Linked DNA regions of Homo sapiens: region 2 is linked to region 1. The links are contacts of gene promoters, found by promoter capture Hi-C in human tissues and cell types (Jung and others, 2019). All regions are on one chromosome and are shown on one strand. Each heading gives the region's core, a stretch centred on a gene start or on the middle of the fragment in contact. The rest is flanking DNA. Distances are from core to core; before and after follow the strand shown.

The links. The method cuts DNA at HindIII sites, captures the fragments that hold promoters and counts their contacts. A contact is called where the count stands out against the background at its distance.
Region 2: a contact is called between a fragment that was not itself captured here and the fragment with the promoter of B3GNT4 in region 1, in 1 of the 25 tissues and cell types used here (dorsolateral prefrontal cortex).

Annotation. Positions count from the first base shown.
Region 1 is chr12:122,202,339-122,205,156 of GRCh38, forward strand. B3GNT4 (UDP-GlcNAc:betaGal beta-1,3-N-acetylglucosaminyltransferase 4) reads left to right here and starts at 1,371. Exons shown (of 3, transcript NM_030765.4): 1 at 1,371-1,463; 2 at 2,184-2,346. The coding sequence starts at 2,281. LRRC43 (leucine rich repeat containing 43) reads left to right here. Exons shown (of 12, transcript NM_001098519.2): 12 at 977-1,133. The coding sequence ends at 1,104. RefSeq lists a silencer at 1,056-1,685. The HindIII fragment of the contact is 16,495 bases long and covers 1-2,818 here.
Region 2 is chr12:122,506,251-122,509,068 of GRCh38, forward strand. It overlaps RSRC2 (arginine and serine rich coiled-coil 2), which reads right to left. Exons shown (of 10, transcript NM_023012.6): 8 at 1,968-2,197; 9 at 584-673. Among named protein-coding and RNA genes, the nearest start is that of ZCCHC8, 6.7 kb to the left of the region's middle. The HindIII fragment of the contact is 4,115 bases long and covers 1-2,818 here.

The sequences.
Region 1 (2,818 bases), core at 121-2,620:
ATAATTGGAAAAGAGGGAGTATTTTAATAGACCTTAAAATAATATAATTTCTTTAATATTACACCAAATTTGACAAGTGGTAATTTCTTAAAGGTTGTTACAATGTGAAAACAATCTATATTGAATTTTTCATAATCAGATTAAAATTCATTAATCTAGTTTGCATTTTGAACGGATATTTTACCATGCAGTTTGTAACATGCATGAGTTACTTGTAAACTACAGGTTAACAGACTTATGCAGATATTCCAACAGTTGACACCTGTCACTATACATTTTCCAAAGATCACGTTCTTTACTATCACCACCCACATCATTAGAAAGGTCTTTGCGTATTGGAAAATTGGTAAATTCATGGTGGCAGATACAATGTTGTCTCATTTTTAGGGCAAATGTTATACATTTATTGAAATGCTTTCAGTTGTTTCCCCTGAAGTGCTATAATTACTTCATTTTTAAGAAAATATCTGCAGCTGGGCTCGGTAGTGTACGCCTGTGATCCTAGCACGTTGGGAGGCCTAGGCAGGCGGATCACTTGAGGTCAGGAGTTCGAGACCAGGCTGGCCAACATGGTGAAACCCCGTCTCTACTAAAACTACAAAAAATAGCCGGTCGTGGTGACAGGCGCCTGTAATCCCAGCTACTTGGAGGCTGACGCAGGAGAATCGCTTGAACCTGGGAGGCGGAGGTTGCAGTGAGCCGGGATCATGCCACCGCACTCCAGCCTGGGCGACGGAGCACGACACTGTCTCAAAGCAAAAAGCAGCCAGTCTTGCAACTCAAACAGCTGCGATTTATTAAATGATCTAATTAAATACAATTTAATTTTATTTCTTATTACTGTTAACACCCGAGGACCAAAACTGTGCTCCCGCTGGGACAGGGTCCAGGGCTTGCATATGGGATGGGTCAGGGCGGCCGAGAACGCCAGCCCATCCGTCTCCCGGGGCTCATGCTCGCACTTAAATTTTCTCAGAAAAGCCGAAAGCCGTGATTCCGATCTACGAAGGCGATTACCACCCTGAGCCCCTGACCGTAGAGGTGCAGATCCAGCTGAACCAGTGCCGCTCGGCGGAGGAGGCTCTGCGCATGTTCGCCGTGTAGGGCGTGGGCAGTAAAGGCTGTTCCCAGCACTCCCGCCTCCGCTTCTGTCCCGCCGCACGCGTCGGGGGGCGGGTGTGGCGCCGGCGTCCTGGGGAGGAGGAGCAGCCTCTGCCCGACCCGGCTCGTGCGGACCCCAGGACCGGGCGCGGGACGCGTGCGTCCAGCCTCCGGCGCTGCGGAGACCCGCGGCTGGGTCCGGGGAGGCCCCAAACCCGCCCCCGCCAGAACCCCGCCCCAAATTCCCACCTCCTCCAGAAGCCCCGCCCACTCCCGAGCCCCGAGAGCTCCGCGCACCTGGGCGCCATCCGCCCTGGCTCCGCTGCACGAGCTCCACGCCCGTACCCCGGCGTCACGCTCAGGTAGGTTGGGGGCCGGGACGCCGCTGCTGTGAGGGAGGCTGGGTCACCGTGCAGGGAGGGGCGTCGCCAGGGCGGCCGTGCCTTTGCACCCCGCGGCCCGCTCCCCGGTCCCCCAGGGTCCCCGCGAGGACGCCGGCCCCGCCCGGGTGCGGCGCGAGTCTGGCCTCGGCGGGCACGGCTCGGGGCCCACGGGCCGCTCGGCTTCGGTTCTCCAGGCTGGGGACAGAGGCTGGAGCCGGGCGCGGTAGACCCCGCCAGCCTGGGCCGCCCGCGCCCGACGCGCAGCGCTGCTGCCAACCCCGGCCCGGGGGTCCCCGCAGAGTGGGTCTCTGCTGCCGTCAGCCCTTCGGAGACTGTCGCGTTGAAAGAATGAACCAGAGTTCGCCCCCTGCCCGCGCCAGGGCGTTTTGGGTCACCGAGTCCTGTGGGGATCCGAGGCGGCTGCCGCCCAAGGCCGAGCGCAGCCTCAGGACCCGCGCCCCACCAGACGGGGTCGTGCGCTCCGCGGCGGGTGGAGAGCCGGGCTCTGGGGTCTCCGCGGCTCGGAGGGCGGCGGGGCGAGGCCGTGCGGCCAGCGCCTGGGGACGCCCGCGGCGGGACAGGGGCCACCCGGGCCGCGGCGCAGCCTGGGCTGAAACCTCCTGGGACGGAACCAAGCCACCTGCTGTGCGCCCTTCTCGGTGAATGGCACCGCCGCCCGCCCGGGCCTCTCGTCCACAGCCCGCGGTGCTCGCACACCTGAGACTCATCTCGCTTCGACCCCGCCGCCGCCGCCGCCCGGCATCCTGAGCACGGAGACAGTCTCCAGCTGCCGTTCATGCTTCCTCCCCAGCCTTCCGCAGCCCACCAGGGAAGGGGCGGTAGGAGTGGCCTTTTACCAAAGGTCAGATTCTTTCACCGCCTCTGCCAGACCCCCTTGTCCCCCACCCCCGCATAGATCTCCAGGGGGCTCAGAAAACTCTGGCCGGTGGCTCACGCCTGTAGTCCCAACGCTTTGGGAGGCCAAGGCGGGAGGATCGCTTGAGGCCAGGAGTTCCAGACCAGCCCAGGCAACAAAAGATACCACATCTCTACAAAAAATAAATTAGCCGGGCCCTGCACGCCTGTAGTCCCAGCTACTGGGGAGGCCGAGGCCGGAGGATCGCTTGAACCCAGGAGTTCCAGGCTGCAGTGAGCTATAATTGTGCCACTGCACTAGAGTCTGGGTGACAGAGACACTGTCTCAAAAAAAACCAACAAAACCCTTAGCTCTTTCACTAGCCGGGCTGGCCTCTTCCTACTGTAAACCTGCTGGGCCCCCGTCTCCCTTCTTTCTCCCCTCTCTCCTGCCCTGGAGCTGCCTGACTCTGCCCACG
Region 2 (2,818 bases), core at 140-2,639, 300 kb after region 1:
ATACTTTTGGGATATGTATTTGATCTCAATAACTTAATTTCCATTCATTATTGAACACCTCCAAAGGACAAGGCAATGTTCTTTCTAGGTCTGGAATATAGCAGGGTGTAACAAAAGTTAACTTCAGTTTAGTAGGTTGGAAAAAACATAATATGTAGAAGATGTCAGGGTATAAATGCCACAGAGGAAAGTAAAGTAGAAAATGGGGATGGAGGCTGGGCGCAGTGGCTCAGAACTGTGATCCAGGGCTTTGAGAGGCCGAGGTGGAAGGACTGCTTGAGCCTCGAAGTTTAAGGCTGCAGTGAGGTATGACTGCACCACTGTACTCCAGCCCAAGTGACAGAGCAAGCAGAGCAAAACCCCGTCTCTCTCTCTCTCTCCAAGTGTGTGTGTAGGGAGGACAGTGGGTAGGGGAGATGGAAATGTTTCAGAATGGGATTGCTTGTTATTTCACAAAAGGTGGTGGGAAAGAACTCAAAAACGCTGACACCTGAGTAAAGACCAGAACTAAGAAAATGAGGGAAGAACAGTGCAGGAGGGCTAATAGCTAATACAAAGATCCCCTGGCACATGTGAAACTCACCTTAATACCCATCAATTTCCTAAATTTGACATTTTGGTCCTTGTTTCCAAAATTCAATTTTTCCCATATTTCAGCAGATTGGGATTTGTCCTGTTAACAAACACTGAACTTTAAAATATGTAAAATTTAAATATTTTTTAGGACATGAAATCTCTCAACAATGTCTAAATTAAAAAAAAAAACACCATGGATAGCATTCAATCAATGTAAGTTTAATTATTTCAAGACTTAAGAAACCACAAAGCAAAGAAATACAAGCAAGAGGTTGGCGCCGTGCTTCACTCCTATAATCCCAGCACTTTGGAAGGCCGAGGTGGGCAAATCACCTGAGGTCAGGGGATCGAGACTAGCCTGGATGACTAGGTGAAACCCCGTCTCTACTAAAAATACAAAAAACTAGCCTGGCATGGTGGTGGGCACCTGTAGACCCAGGAGGGTCTCAGGAGTCTGAGGCAGGAGAATTGCTTGAACCTGGGAGGCAGAGGTTGCAGTGAGCTGAGATCACACCACTGCATTCCAGCCTGGGTGACAAGAGCAAGACTCTGTCTCAAAAATAATAAAAATAAAATAAAAAAATGGATTATTTTCCTGTCATAGACCTTTTTCAACATGCAATTTTTGCGACTGCATGTCATTTGCATTTAATGTCATTTGTCATTGCAAATAATGTCAAAAAAAAAAAAGTACCTCATAATCTATGAAAAATTCTAAACCAAGTAGCCTCTTTTCCTTACTACTTCTATGGTAATATTAGTTTTCTTTGAAAGCTTGACTTCAATCAATTATGTTTTATTTTAGTATTAATAACTGGCAAATAAGACTATCATAGCTTATTATAAGTTTTTTGAGACAGGGTCTCACCCAGGCTGAAGTGCAGTGGCGTGATTTTTTTTTTTTTTTTCCAGATGGAGTTTCGCTGGAAACTCACTGCAACCTCCGCCTCCCAGGATCAAGTGATTCTCCTGTTTCAGCCTCCCAAGTAGCTGGGATTACAGGTGCCCACCACCATGCCTGGCTAAGTGGCATGATCTTGGCTCACTGTATGTAGGCTCTGCATCCCAGGCTCAAGCGATTCTCCTGCCTCAGCCTCCCAAGCACCTGGGATTACAGGTGTGTGCCACCACACCCAGCTGATTTTTATCTTCTTTTCAGTAGAGACAGGGTTTTGCCATGTTGGCCAGGCTGGTCTTGGACTCCTTACCTCAACTGATCCGCTCACTTGGCATCCCAAAGTGCTGGGATTAAAGGCATAAGCCACCCGCGTCTGGCCACCCCAGGTTCTTACAAAGTTAAGCCGAAAGTAATATTTTTCAACCCAAATTTGTTTTTCTAAGCAATTACTAATTAGGAATAAACGACAGAAAAGCAGAATAAGAGAACTTACCCCTTCTTTCTTGCCCTGCCAAAGCATTTTCCTTTTTTTCTCTTGTTCAGCAAATTTCATTGGATTAACAGCGGCTGGGTTATAGTAGCTAGGAACAGCTATTCCTGTCTCTGCCAAAGCTTTAGCTTGCAGGGCTGCCATCTGAGCTGCCATGGCTATCTGAGGTGTTACTTGTGTTCCTGATGCCAACAGGGCAGCAACATTGAGAACAGAACCTCCAGTAGCTGCAGCTGCTTGAAGAGAATACAAAAATGGATTTTAAAACGATTTTAAAACATAAACCTCCTGATTTACATTAACGAACGATTTATAAAAAGCTATGAATGTGCAAAAAGGCAGGATTTTCACCAAATCCAAGGAAATGACTGAGTATTAGCTCACAAGTTTTTAGCAAACATTTATTGTGTTCATCAACGGACATATTTCTACATAAACCCTTGATATATAAACCATTTATTGCAAGGCGCAGTGGCTCACGCCTGTAATCCCAGCACTTTGGGAGGCTGAGGTGGGCGGATCACCTGAGGTTGGGAGTTCGAGACCAGCCTGACCAACATGGAGAAACCCCGTCTCTACCAAAAATACAAAATTAGCCGGGCGTGGTGGTACATGCCCGTAATCTCAGCTACTCGGGAGGCTGACGCAGGAGAATCACTTGAACCCAAAAGGCGAAGGTTGCAGTGAGTCGAGATCATGCCACTGCACTCCAGCCTGGGCAACAAGAGCGAAACTCCGTATCAAAACAAAAAAAAAACCCATTTATTTACTTTGAGGATAGAGAATTCTGCAAATAGTAAGAAAGTATGATTTCAGTGGAGATGAACTATAGTGTTTCTAAGGTATAATTACAA